Regions from separate parts of the Homo sapiens genome. Here all the other regions are linked to region 1. Evidence: promoter capture Hi-C in human tissues and cell types (Jung and others, 2019). All regions are on one chromosome and are shown on one strand. The core of a region is centred on a gene start or on the middle of the fragment in contact, and the rest is flanking DNA. Distances in the headings are between cores, read along the strand shown.

The links. The method cuts DNA at HindIII sites, captures the fragments that hold promoters and counts their contacts. A contact is called where the count stands out against the background at its distance.
Region 2: a fragment that was not itself captured here is called in contact with the fragment with the promoter of PCP4 in region 1 in 1 of the 25 tissues and cell types used here (spleen).
Region 3: a contact is called between a fragment that was not itself captured here and the fragment with the promoter of PCP4 in region 1, in 1 of the 25 tissues and cell types used here (dorsolateral prefrontal cortex).
Region 4: a contact is called between a fragment that was not itself captured here and the fragment with the promoter of PCP4 in region 1, in 2 of the 25 tissues and cell types used here (dorsolateral prefrontal cortex and pancreas).

Annotation. Positions count from the first base shown.
Region 1 is chr21:39,865,389-39,868,987 of GRCh38, forward strand. PCP4 (Purkinje cell protein 4) reads left to right here and starts at 2,050. Exons shown (of 3, transcript NM_006198.3): 1 at 2,050-2,122. The coding sequence starts at 2,114. The HindIII fragment of the contact is 8,471 bases long and covers 1-3,599 here.
Region 2 is chr21:40,100,319-40,103,917 of GRCh38, forward strand. All of the region lies in intron 20 of DSCAM (DS cell adhesion molecule), which reads right to left. Among named protein-coding and RNA genes, the nearest start is that of MIR4760, 110 kb to the right of the region's middle. RefSeq lists an enhancer at 2,301-2,802. The HindIII fragment of the contact is 4,253 bases long and covers 1-3,599 here.
Region 3 is chr21:40,066,013-40,069,611 of GRCh38, forward strand. All of the region lies in intron 27 of DSCAM (DS cell adhesion molecule), which reads right to left. Among named protein-coding and RNA genes, the nearest start is that of MIR4760, 140 kb to the right of the region's middle. The HindIII fragment of the contact is 4,719 bases long and covers 1-3,599 here.
Region 4 is chr21:40,049,263-40,052,861 of GRCh38, forward strand. DSCAM (DS cell adhesion molecule) reads right to left here. Exons shown (of 33, transcript NM_001389.5): 30 at 2,696-2,845. Among named protein-coding and RNA genes, the nearest start is that of MIR4760, 160 kb to the right of the region's middle. The HindIII fragment of the contact is 3,097 bases long and covers 218-3,314 here.

The DNA.
Region 1 (3,599 bases), core at 800-3,299:
TGTATGAATTCTGGAGGAAGGCAATCAGCTCAGACCATAACCCATTCTCCCCAATAGTCTTCATAGTCCCTTGGTTGGTCCCAAAGAATTGCTGAGTCTACCCAGCAAAGCCTCAGCCCAGCCCTGCACCTCCAATCCTGCCCCTCTACTTGGAGCCTCAGCACTAATTGCTGTGCTGCCAACCTCAGGCTGCTGCAGCCCTTGATGTGTCTTTGTGTTGTTAGAAAATGCAGGTCTGCTCCAGAGCCAGCCAGCAGAGCACAGGCTGATTCTCCACATGCCCTCTGCACAGCCTGGAGGACCACAGCAGGGACCCCATGGAGGCTCACACTGGGAGACCCCTTCTACACCTCCAGGCTGTGGGGGTCCAGCCCCCAACAGGGCAGGAGGCCCCTGGGGAGGGTGTGGTTTTTGCCCCTGAGAAATCACAGGTGTCTCCTAGTATAGATAAGCAAGCACCCTTCTTCCAATCTGTCAATCTGTCCTACATCGCAGATGACACTATGGCTCCAGTTCCTCACCCTGCCCTCCTCCTCCTTCTCTCCCACTACTAACCACCTGGGCAACCCTAAAGGCATCCCACGTGGGCCTTCCCAAGCGTGGCATTGGGGGCAAGGAGGAGGAGGGGAGTGAGAGAAGGAGGATGCTGTCTTCATTAGTTTGCAAATGATTTGTGTGGTCAGGATATGTAAATAAATAATTTATATACATATAAAAGAAACGAATATAACACACATATTTTATATAATATATATAATGTTCATTTCTGTCGCTCTGTGAAATATAGGTTATTTTATAATAACTCATGTATGAGACTCTGTCTTGCTGGCTGGTGTTCCCACGCTGTGGGCGAGGGTGCTGACCAGCTGGTGCTCCTGGCCAAGGCCTCTGAGGGCAGCCTGTGCTCGCCGGTGCCCATTTGGGGGCGCATGGCCTTCTGCTTGCTGTCCAAGGTGGACCTGAGGATGTGGTCGCATCGGTGACCTGGGCATGTAAGGAGGGCAGTCCAGGTCAGAGGGCGTGGGGCTGCTGAGCTGAGGAGAGAGGGTTGATGGGCTGGAGTCTGGTGGCCTGCTCTGCACAGGGAGATGAGGGGTGCTGGGGACGGGTGGCAAGACGCTTCAATCTTCTCGCCAGACCCTCTCAGTCCTGTACCGGGACTGGCAGAGTAACAGATGTGAATGTGCCTTCAGTCTGCACAACGCTTTTTTGGGACAGTTGAGGGCCCACTCTGATGCCTTGAAGACTCTTCAGAGCCTCACGATGTTGGGACTGAACAAAGGATGGAACCTCTTCCCGGAAAAGCTGAACAGGACTAAGGCAAGGAGACCTTCAACCAGGCCAGGGCCAATGCCCAGGCTCCTTCCTGGCCCCACTGTGGTTGTGAGGAGGGCACATCAGCAAGGCTGCTGGAGCCGCTCGCCTCCTTTGTTGAGGTCGTGGGGACCCATTCCCATGTCCCAGTCCATCTACTCTTATCCTTCCAGCTCAGGGTACAAGCAGGGCGACAGATATGGGATAGGGGAGAGACAGCAGAGATATTAAAGTCCTTGGGCTGAGTTTTGTGTTATAAAGGGCAAGGGAAACACAGCTCCTGGGAAAACCTGAAAGTGCGTGAGCGGGCACGCAGGTATTTTCAGAGCTCCTCTTCCCTTAGAAAAACAATCCTTCCCATTGACATTTGAAAGGTATTTTACATGCATGTAAATCTTGCACTCATTGAAAAACGCACAATGGCATCCCTGTGATGATCTTTGAAACTTTAGCTTTTACTTTTTACTTTTTTTTTTTTTTTAAAAGAGACAGGGTCTCGTTCTGCTGCCCAGGCTGGAGTGTATTACTTTTTAAAGAAATCGAGCATTTCCTTCCATCCTGGCGGAATTTGGAGCAGCGACCTAACGTGCCGTTCTCTTTTGCACCACTAGGTGGCCCCTGGTGCTCTCAGATGTCGGCCAGGCTTGCAGACAGGTGAATGCATCTCATTGGCTCCAGGGAGGCATGATGCCACCGGGCAGCTCTTTTTAAGAGAAAAGCCAGAACCGGTGGAGCAGCGACCCCTGAGCAGTGTTCTCTGTGCTGAGCGGCGGGACTGAGCTGTTGAGTTAGAGCCAACATGAGTGAGGTGAGTGATGCTTCGACCTGGAGAGGGAAACTTAGGAGTGAGAAGGGACCTCGGCTGAAGGATTAGTCTCAGGAAATGTGAGGGACTTAGCAGTGCTGAGGAACAAATTAATCCTGTAATTATTTGCTTGGAGAACTGACAGGATTAATCTCTTGGTTTGAATGGTAAGTGCAGAAATTGGTTAAGTTTGCAACTTCTACAATTAGCCTGAGGAGGAGAAAGGTTTGCTTTCTGATTGAATGGTGACTTTGAAAAGTGCTTTGGGTTTTAGAGCTCAGAAGAGAAAGCCAAATGTTTTATTCTCTTACGAAGATGCGTGTCTTTGCATGATTCCCGCGGTGATACCTTTCAGAATGTGAGTGGGCAGGTGGTCATCTGGTGAATGCAAGCCATGGAAGGGAAGGGGACAAGGTGGGGAAAGGGCTGGCCGTTGGGTGGCATTTCATGGCTCAGTTGTACAAACTACCTCTGCAGTTAATCAGAGCACCAGGGAAAGAAATGCAAAAAGTAGTAGGAACTGGGAAACATCCGTGTGTATAGATCTGTGGCTCTAAGACCGGAGGCGGCCCCGGCAGAAGAAGAGCTACAATTTTGCAAATCCAAAGTCACTTCTCTAAACTTGTTTATACAGAATGTGTTTTACTGGGGCCAACTGACAGCACGTTTGTTTTTCTAAAATCATCTTCTCCTTTTTTCTCATCTATGAAGCAGATTAGCGGTGGTACAACACCATTCTCTAATTCAACTCAATAACCGAGCCAAATGCATCTTCATTTCCTCTTGGTTGGCACTTAAATAATTACTTTTAAAGATCTTTTATCTTCTCTGTCTCTTTTTGACAGATGGATGATTCTTTTCTTGGAAGTCTAGGATAAAATTAACAACTTCAGAAATAAAATGCCTCCTCCCTGCTTTTATCTCTCTGATGGGTGATTTTTGATGTAAACATGACAAGAAGAAGAGCAAAGCACTATAAAACTTAGAAATGGGGTTTAGGACAAAGCCAGGGGTTTGAGGCAGGGAGAGACCAACTGTGGGGTGGAAGATGGGAATTCTCCCACCACCACAATCAATGGTACCTGTAACAGCAGCTAACACTTGCCTAATGGTCTGTGTGCCGACAGTGTCAGGCTGTCTCTGCATCTGTCACCTTCTTTGAACCTCTCAACAACTCCGTGCAGTGGGCACCATTATTATTCCCAATTGACAGATGAGGACACTGAGGCACAGAGATGGGAACTAAGTGGTTTGAGGTCACCAGCTAAAGAACAGTAGAGCCAAGACTTGGGCTGCAATGCTGGGTGGTTGACTGCCGGGTGAATCTTGATGTCTAAATGTGTATGGAATTTGCTGAACAGAGGGGATGGCAGAGGTTGGAGGAGGAGAGGGGAGGTGAAGAGAAAGAAAGAAAGGAGCTGGGGCTCTGAAATAGAGATGGAATGATGAGGATGAGACCTCCATTTCCCACATGCTAGGA
Region 2 (3,599 bases), core at 421-2,920, 230 kb after region 1:
GCTCAGCCAAAAATGCTTGTTCTGAAAAGAAGGGATGATAAATATCATCTCCTTTTGAAATATTTCCCTCCATATTTTATTAAGTTAGGATAGCATGGACTATATTTATATTTCATTAATTTTCTTTTTATTGGATACCAGATTTTCCAACACAACAATCCAATAGTGTGTAAACTGACTTGCTAATTTCTACATGCATATTTTATTACGTAGCACTCTCTTCCAAATATAGAGAATGTTCAATGAGAAGGGATCACTTTGATTTCCAGATTTCGCCTGATATATCAGCTGGGTTGCTATTTCAGAGACTCTGAATCTTTTTTTTTTTTTTTTTTAAAGAAACAAAGCAAAGCTTCGCTATCAAGGACAACAGATAAACACTGCGGTATAAAGAAGGGCAAACTCACAATGGAGTTTCTTAGGGATTAATGAACCAAATGTGGCAAAAGGAGAAATCTGTGGGGAAGCAACAGAGACACTTTTCTTAATATTTAAATATTTCATTTTCTTCAGGTAGACTTTGAACTCTCCAGTCTCATCTTCTTTAGAGTTAAGACAGACGTGTCAGTCATCCTAGATTTTGTTATGCCTAAAGTGTGAATTAATTTTGAGTGGACTACAGTAATTGTGCTAACCATTTGTTTGAAGAGAAGACATAAGAGTTCCTTTGTGACCTGTGGAAATACAGAAACAGCCAACATTACGAAGTTGCCGCCAGGCATGGACTTGAGGGATCCCATCCCCCATGTCCCTGAACCAGAATGCCAGGGATTCCCTTCCATGGCTTATTTTTAATCCTGCTCTGTCTATGCCCAGCTTGAGGAAGTGGATGGGACATTTGTGGACTGGGGTTGCCAATTATTTTGCATCTGTCATATATTCCTCTTGGCTAGCTGAGGAAAAAGCCTGTTATTTCTCATCTAAAATGTGTTTAAACATGTAGGCTCTATCCAAGTTGAGAAGCAAGCCAACATTTATTATTAATTAATCACTTCTCAATTGAAAGGCTCTAAGTGGCTGCCAAGTTACTGATTTCTTGGTCCACCAGATAACATGGTGGCATGAGAAGAACAGGGCTCTCTCTGGCTCAGCGGTCCCCAGCCTTTTTGGCATCAGGGACAGATTTCGTGGAAGACAGTTTTTTTTTTCACAGATGGATGGACGTGGTAGGATGGGATGGTCTTGGGATGAAACTGTTTCACCTCAGATCATCAGGCATTAGTTGGATTCCCATAAGAAGCATGCAGTATAGGTCCCTAGTATTAGTCCGTAGCCCGGGGGTTGGGGAATCCTGCTCTACCGATGTCATGTAACAGGGGCAATCCACAGTGTTCTTAGGGGAAGATTTGGGTATTTGGTCTGAGGACACACACATAAAATGTAAAATATGCATGTTGCTTATGTAATGAACCATCTCAAATACTATTCTTACAGTGGGCTGGTCATGGTTTTTACTGTGGGAGGTGGTGGGGGGGGGTCCAGGCAGACACTGCTGCCTTCAAAGTATGGAGGTCTGTGGATAAGGGATGTTGGCGAGAGTTATAGGACCCCATGAGCCAGACATAGAAGCTTGTTGGACTATCGTTCTCTCCTTTGGGCTGTGGGAAGAAAATCTAGGCAAAAGTTCTTAGCTTCATGCCTCGTAATAGGAAGGGCTTGTAAATAATTACTGAGTTTCAATTAATGGTCATTTACTGAGTTCAGTTGCAGTGTGTAGATTATAAGGCAAGTTCCTGCCCCCGGGGAGCAAGAAGTGACCACAGCTTGGCAAACAGATTAATTTAAAATGAGGCACCATAGAAGTCTGACCAATTCCTACTAAAATTTAGATATAAACTCGTTTGAACCTTTCTCTAAAACCAACCCTGTCATAGTTGAAGACATGGATGAATATTTATAAGATGCCTAAAAAATAAATGGAAACTTCATATATTTGTTTTAAAAAATATTTATAGCAAGGTTTTACAAGACTTCTGACATGTTTGCCTCCCCAAAGCCGTATCCAGAGTGGAAAATACAGTAAATGGGATAAATCTTGTGACACCCAAGCCAGAGCGTTCACATTTCAAGCGTTTTGTCTTTGTATGTTACTGCTTTAGGTCTGCTGGGTAGAGTCGTGGGTTCCTAAGGAACTAAATGTGCACAGTTTACTCTTCCAGTCAAAAGAGTGTAAGGGTTGTGAGGAAGTTAGTTTTCTCCTAGTGCTTCAGGGTCAACTCATGGAAAGCCTGGGAACAGCGTCTTCTAGACCTGCCTTCATTCCACAATTATTGTTGCCTTGTGGTGTTGATATAATATTTTTCTTTTCATGTGTAAGATGCTTTTGACCAGTAAATAAGATATAATTAGCCACAGTGAGGCACTTTAAACACTCTTTGGTCATGTCTATAAAACTAGACGTTTACCCAATAATTGCCAAATTCATTTCCGAACCCCTCACATTACTTAGCTTGTAGCTGCACTTGTAAGACCTTGCAGAGCCTTCTCTAGTCCTCTCAATCAGGGGCTAAGTCTGCCCTTTGTCTTTCATAGCCTTTGCCTTTATTCCACTGTGGGTTATGGTCTTGCATGTGCTTACTGCATCTCCCCAGGGGTCAGGCTCCCCGACCCATCCCTCTACTCCTTTTACTCACCCATCCCTCTACTCACTCTGCAGGGAACCTGGTTCAGAGCATTGCTTAGAGCTGGGACTCAATGACCAGTAACTGGAATACACTGAAGAAATTCTTGTTGTACTAGGTGAGTTTAGTAATGACCTAGAAATGATTTGAGTACGATAGGAAATAATGAGGATAAAATGACTACAAAGCCATAGGCTGTTCATGTCAAACTATTCAGCCTGTCTGATATAAAAGGAATTCTACTTTTAAAAATTTCAATTAACTTTTTAATGAAAAACTAATTCTATAAGGAAATGTGATGTTTTAAAAAGCTCTGATAGCTAATTGTTAACATGCAATTAAAAAAACTTGAAGGCTGTGATTTCATAGATAGAATGTCCACAGCAGTGAAAAAAAAACTCCCCCAAGCAATAAACAAAATTGATAGCTCTTTTAATTATAGGGTAAGGGAACTTTTAGAATGCTTAACATCTTCTTGTTTAGTGGCAAAGAAATGGCCTGGATTCCATTAAGAATTAGCAGTTCACTGCATTAATTTAAGATTTTTAAAATTCTTATGTATAATATATTTTGATCTAATTTCCATTTTATTTCACAGTTCCCATCTATAAAAGAAGATGTCATGGCAGAAAGATCTTCCTAAAGGCATAGGTTGAGAGGCCAACATTGGTAGAAATGGGATAACAGCCAGGCAATTCTGGTAGTTTCCTCTGCCTTTCACTGAGATTACTGTAGATACCATTACATATATGACTATATATATGACTATATATAGACTATGTATATAACTATATACATAGACTATTGGCTACTTTTAAAAAGCCTTTCAAATATAAAATATTTTATATATGACCATATATATATATATGACTATAGATACCATTATATATATGTCTATATATATGACTATATGTAGACTATATATATAATTATATACATAGACTATTGGCTACTTTTAAAAAGCCTTTCAAATATAAA
Region 3 (3,599 bases), core at 642-3,141, 200 kb after region 1:
GCTAGTGCAAAGCCCTCCATCGTCCCCACCGCCCCATGCAGACGCAACTTGCTCCGTGTACCCTCCCATGCCCAGTAGGCAGGGGTGAAGCTTCGGTTCCCTCCGCTTCCCTGGACCTCTGCCTTATATCTCAGACAGCCCTTCCCAGCTCATACTGTGCCCACCTGTTTTCGGGTTGTCTTTCTCTTGGCCCTTTTGGGCACAGTCCTGTCCCTGATCCATAGTGAAGCTGCACAAAGATTTCCTGAGGACACATTTAATTGTGAGAGACATCTTCCTTTTCTTGTGCAGAAATTCCTTGATGTAATTTTAACCTGAAGTCATTTGCCAGCTGTTCAGATATTTCCATGTAGCTGCATTTCCCTTGCTTGGCCTCAGCTTTCTCTTTTCTGGGTTACATTCTCTAATTTTCTCAGCCACTCCTCATACGGAATGATTTCTAGGTAATTCCCTACTTGGGAATCTCTTCTTTGAAAGGTTTGTGATTTTTTTATTTCTCTATAAAATGAGGCTGAGAAAGACGCTGGTAATTCTTGATCTTCTAGCACACTAGGGAGAGCACAATGCTCATTATACGTGTTGCAAATGAATTTTTTTTTACAACTTCTATAGAAGACTTCACAATTATTCCTATTAAACTGTATCTTCTTGCTTCCAGCCTTTCAAAATCTCTTAAAATGTGGATTTGTCCCTCTAATACATTAGCTTCCCCACCAGGATGTATGTGGCCTCCAAGATTGGATTAGCCTGCCCATGCTTTCAGCTACATCCTGGTGTACCCTTATTAATCAGCCCTGTCAAAATGCAAATGGAGTTTGTCTGGGCCCCTGGTGGTCCCTTCCCTTCCCTGATTGCTCACAAAACATCCTTTCTATAACCTCAACTAACTTATTTCAGTCTATAATGTCCAGAATTAATCTATTGTTGTTGAAAATGGGTCCAGGGTCTAGATGCTCTTTGACTTACGATTACCTCCTGATGAACCCATCATCAATTGAAAATATAATTAAGTCAAAAATGCATTTAATATGCCTGACCTACCAAACATCAGGGCTTAGCCTAGCCTATCTTCAACGTGCTCAGAACATTTACCCTACCCTACAGTTGGGCAAAACTATCTAACACAGAGCTTATTTTATAATAAGGTGTTGAGTATCTCATGTAAAAATAATGGATCACATATCACTAACCCAGACAAAGATCAAAATTCAAAATACAGTTTCTACTGAATGCATATCATTTTTGCACCATTGCAAAGTCAAAAACTCCTAAGTTGAACCATAGTAAGTCAGGGACCATCTGCATAATCATTTTCTAACACCTCTAATTTACATTTGATTGTTCAAAGGTTATCCAGAAAGATCTTGGGGTTATGTCTGGAAAAATTTTGTTCAGAACCCTAAAATGTTATCCTTCAGAATCATGGGACTGGAACCCCATGACAGCTTCCCTAATTTTTTAAGTGGTGGAGATCTTTCCTTTCAGTGAAACAGCACAGCATTTATTCTGTCTGCATTAGGCTGCTTACGCTTTGGAACTTGTGTAATAGTTCTTTGTAAACATTGTCTGCAAAAAGCAACATCTCCACCTCCACATAATGGCTAATACAGAGTATGTTTTGAAAAAAAATAAATCCTTTTAAACTATCAGGGTGCTGATTATTTTCATAAGCATCCTGAGTTTCTCCCTTCCCCTCCCCTCCCCTCCCCTCATTCCCTCCCTCCCCTCATTCCCTCCCTCCCTCCCTCCCTCCCTCCCTCCCTTCCTTCCTTCCTTCTTTTTATAATTCCTGGTCCACGTTTTCTGATTCAAATAGCATTTCTCCTGGTACACATCAAGCAAAGCAGATGCTGAGCAGCTCTCCTGTCTACCTGCCATCTGTTAATATGAGAACATTGTTCACAGCCTTGTTCTTCTTGCCCAAACACAGCTAAACAGCCCTTGCATTGCCTGTCACATTTTTTCCCACACATTTCAGATCAGCCTGAGATTCAGACTTCGCGACATCTTTTCTAAAGCCGCTTGCTACTCCCACACTTCCATCCTTGGCTCTGGGCTCCTCCCTTATCTGTTGGGCTGGGAAATGATGGAGAAATGATACCAGGATAATCTAGTGATATTAAAATGTGGAAGGAAGGAATTTCAAAAGACAACATTTGCTAACACTCTGAATGCTGCAAAGAGGGCTAAAAAATGATGGCTGAAAGGATAATTTGGAGATCAGAGAATAACTGGTCATCTGTCTTCAGGAGAACAGTTACATTTGGGTGGCGAGTGGAAGGGGACTGTGGGAATTTGGGAGTAATTGAGAGGTAGTGTAGCTGAGGACAGAATACTCTCAAGTATTCAGTGGAGAAAAGAATCAGAGAGACAGTAGGATGAAGATATGCAAGCTAGAAGGAATATGTATATGTGCCTCTCTCTGTATATAATATATACATATTTAAAATATAATTAGGGGAAGGCTGAAGGGTAGTGAATATCGAAATACAAAATCAATAGACCAAGTATTTTTGATGGGCAAACATAAAATTATATAGTAGCTATTGATACTGTGTTAATACATCTTCTAATTCCAGGTATAATTGATAAACCTTTAGAGCTTACTTAATATTGATGAGACAACCTGTTTCTTACTTGAATATTCAAAATCCTGCAGAAGTTTCATGGCAAGAGGAGTAGGGTAGGGAGATTGATCTGAACTCTCTTCTAGCTCTGCCTGGACTCATATGTGATTCTGGATAATTCTATAGCTGGCCTTCAGTTTTCACGTCAGAAAATGGGGTATGATGGCTGGACGCAGTGGCTCATGCCTATAATCCCAGCACTTTGGGAGGCTGAGGCAGGCGGATCACCTGAGGTTGTGAGTTCGAGACCAGCCTGACCAACTTGGAGAAACCCCGTCTCTACTAAAAATACAAAATTAGCCGGGCATGGTGGTGCATGCCCACAATCCCAGCTACTTGGGAGGCTGAGGCAGGAGAGTCGCTTGAACCCAGGAGGTGGAGGTTGTGGTGAGCTGAGATCATACCATTGCACTCCAGCCTGGGCAAAAAGAGCAAAACTCTGTCTCAGAAAAAAAAAAAAAAGAAAAAGAAAAGAAAGAAAATTGGGGCATCATAATGGGCAGTTCATACTCAACCATTTTGCATGGCTATTGAGAGACTAAGGCAGGATGGTGTATAGTGAAGTACTATGGAGAAGAAAGAGGAGCGAAACAATGGGAAGCATTAGTAGCCTGTGGATTAGTACATGGTTAGATCGAGTTTTGGGAAATGGCACCTCTGGTTGGATGAGGAGGCTCCCAGCTTGGTCTTGCCCAGTTCCTGTGTTCTGTTTATAGACCACAGCTTGCATCCTGGGGTTGTGCCTGGCATGAAGGTGCACATCAGCAAGGCAGAGCATGACACAGCATGGCGTGGGAGAGTGCCCACCATGGCCCCAGGCACTGCAGCTGTGCAAAGCTTGAGAGGCTGAACTGCCTCACATTTTGCACACTCAAATGCTTCTTTAAAAAAGAGAAATCTTGTTTATAGCCACATGGCTACATTTTCATATCTGAAGTTCTAGTTACGTAAAATGGAAGACGCTTAGGTTAA
Region 4 (3,599 bases), core at 516-3,015, 180 kb after region 1:
TGAGGACAGCTGTTTCTCTGTCTCACCTTTTCCCTGCCTTTCACTGTGCTCCAGTGCCACTTCCATCCTCATCATGCGGGGAACCTTGGGAGCTTTTCCCTGCTGCCCCCTCTGCTCCTGCTGTGACTCTGATCTTGTTTCATGTCTTCCCCTCACTGGAAGTCCTCCTGAATGACTTGGACCCAAGAGAGCCCCTCCCACTGCTCCACACGCCCGCTGACTCACCATGGCTTCATTCTCTTTCTGTCTAGGACTTACTGAGAAATGAAAACTACTTTAGTTCCATGTCTAATGTCTGCCCCCTGACTAGGATGAAATGAATGTCTTTTTGCATCTTACTCATGGTGTATCTCCATCATACAGCACTGAGCCATATACGTAAAGTGAAACCTGAATAAATACTTTTGAGTGCTGAATGAACGCATTAACATTCCCAGCCCTGCTTCCAACTTTATAGCCATGAGATACACACACGTCCCTCCCATGTGCGTCCTGCCTGGCACTCGCTGACCACTGGTTTACAGTATCTGCTGTGACTCCGGTTCATGTCTCTGTTGATATTTTACATGCCAACAAATCAACTTCCCCATTATTCTGGGGCTGACCATGAAGCTGGAAGGTTGCCAGTGCTTTTGTTTTGGGCTGCTGCTTCTCCTGTCTTAACTATTTATGACTAGCTTTATGCATTCTCGGCTGCTAGCTGACCATTGACAGGGAAGCAGAAATGCATGTTGCTTTTTACCTGGCAGGAAGAACTGATGTGCCGGAGGGGTCCTGCCCTGCTGCGTTACATGCAGGAAACATTTCTAACCCTTGGGGCAGTGTTTCTCAATGTGGGGTCCAAACGGCCAGCATCAGAATCACCCAGGGTGTCTGTTACCATGCGGATTCCTAGGCCAGAATCTCTGGGTGGAGGCCTGGAATTGATATTTAAATAGGCACCAGGTGATTCTGATGCATGTAAAGGTGGAGAACGAGACCCAGGGCATCTGCTCTGTTGTCTCTTTTGCCTGCTCTTCTGCCACCGTTTCCAACAGAATGCTGAAGCCAATGCTGCATCACTCTAAAAATCTAATCCTTTCAATATCTGTAACTTTTTCTGATTTAGCAGCAAAAAAGTGGCTCTTAAACCCATTGGAGCAGTGTCTTGGAGTAGCAGCAAGCCACACCAGGCAGTTCACAAGGGAGAAGCCAACGGCTGAAGAGATGTCAAAGCCCTTGAATCTTTTTTTTTTTTGGAGACAGAGTCTCGCTCTGTCGTCCAGGCTGGAGTGCAGTGGCGTGATCTCAGCTCACTGCAAGCTCTGCCTCCCAGGTTCACGCCATTCTCCTGCCTCGGCCTTCTGAGTAGCTGGGACTACAGGTGCCCGCCACCAGGCCGGCTAATTTTTCTTATTTTTAGTAGAGACGAGGTTTCACCATGTTAGCCAGGATGGTCTCAATCTCCTGACCTCGTGATCCGACCGCCTCGGCCTCCCAAAGTGCTGGGATTGAGCCACTGCGCCCAGTCTGGATCATTTTTTAAGAGCAAGGCTCTGGCACACACCCCTTTGCAAAGCTAATTCCCACTCATATCCCGTTTATGTCTTCAGAATGTATTAATGTGATCAAAGAAGAAAGGCGGTAAGAAGATTAGACAAAAGGAAGAGGTAAAAGACTTCTTTAGAATGTAGAATATTCTTGAAAACATTTTTTAAATGAATTTCAATGCCTGCTGAAACTGTTTTCTGTATATTACAATGTTATTTCGTAGGCAATGGGTTTACTTCATAAAGCTCACTGCATTTCGCAAATGCTTCCCAAGCTAGGATTTATGAAGAATAGCTTTTAACATTATAATAGTTATTTTTCTAATAATAACACACTATTCTAAGAATGTAAATTTTTGCAAAGAAATTGATTAGAGATTTGAAAGCTAGACGTCAAAGTTTCCAAAATGATAATAATCAGGACATCAATTTCTCAGTCTTTAAAGAGATTTAGGAACGATTCCAATTATGAAGAAATAAGAGTATCTAATTAATAAGCTCTAGATACATATTAGGGGATTCACCTTCATTGCAGTAATTAATTTCCATATATTATGGATGCAAATATTAATAACAAAATCCAACATAATCTTCACATTAACTAGAATTATAATTTTTCTCAAACAGTGTGTTCAGGGGCAAAAGCATAAGCTTTGGGGATAGATGGGTCTGTTTCTGAATCTTGGTTTTACTACTTATGTGTGCAACTTTATACTGTTTGCATAATTTATCTGAGGCTGCAGTTTTCTCATCTGCAGAATAGAGGCTATGATACCTGCTTCACGAGTAGGTATCTTACAGGATTGTTGCAAAGATAACGTGCATGACATCATCGTTCTATCCCAATACTGGCATACAGCAGATACACACTAAAGTAGATTACTTTTTTCCTTTTCTGTGTTGCTTAAATTAAAAAAATAAATACATGTACCTGAAATTTCTAGCACTTTTTATAGTAACCAATACTAACAGTAATTCAACTGACATAATAATAGCCAAGATCCATCAATAACAGCTCATTATCCCAATTAGGGATGTTATTATACCCATTTGTTTCTCAGGCATAGGTATGAAAAGCCACACATTTTCATTTGAGAGAGAAAGAACATTACTATGTTTTCAGCATTGTTAACACCCACACATTTTAAGCATTGTTGACCACTCACTCGTTCCCGGCCGAGCGTCTGAAACATCCACTAAGGGCCCAGTGGCCTGAGACACCGATTGGTAATGGACCGTGTGAGTGACCGTCAGGGACTTCTGCTTAGCTGCCTCTCCAAAGTCAGCATCCGTCAACAGAACCGTGGAGCGATCATCTACAGGATGGCAGGAACACAGAAAGCCAAACACGTTTATCTCCCTTCCAACCACTCCCTGGCCTTTTCTCTCCTGAGGCACTTGTGTTATTGTTAATGACAACCACAATAATAGCCCCATCTAAAGTGACAAAAATGATTGAAAATTCAAGCACTGAATTAGCATTACTCTAGAGTGCTAGGAATAGAAGCTTCTTCCTAGGGGTTGGCTTTGGGAGCAATGAGCTAAGAAGAACCATGACTATGCAGAGAAGGAGCTCTCTTTTCTCTTTGGGCTTGGCTTTTCATTAAGCTAACATTGATTTGAACTCTGGATTTATGTGTTTGTCAAAAGCTTCTCTGAGACATCATCTGCGATGCCAGCCCCCTCACCAGTGATGAGGCTGTCAATGAAGACAGGTCCCTTTGGCTGCTGGGAAGCTCTGTTTGCAGGACTAGAAAATCGCCACTACAGTTCTCTCTACTGAGGTTTGCTCTCATTCTGAACTTGGCTAATGTTTGGAGGGGAAATAAAAGAGAAGAAAACATGCCAGTCTTCAGAGCTTATTGATTGCTCTATTTTAAAGGACTCAAGGTATGTTCCTTTTCTTCCCACCTCCTGTAAGCTTTAAGCACTCTAGAACATCCATTAACTGACTTCTCCTACATGATTCACTTGTCAGACTTCCCAAGTCCTACTGCCGTGGGCACTTGAAGGTGAGCGAGGCAGGAGCCTGGGTTTGGATGGGTTCTGGGCATCTTAGTGCTTGGAGCA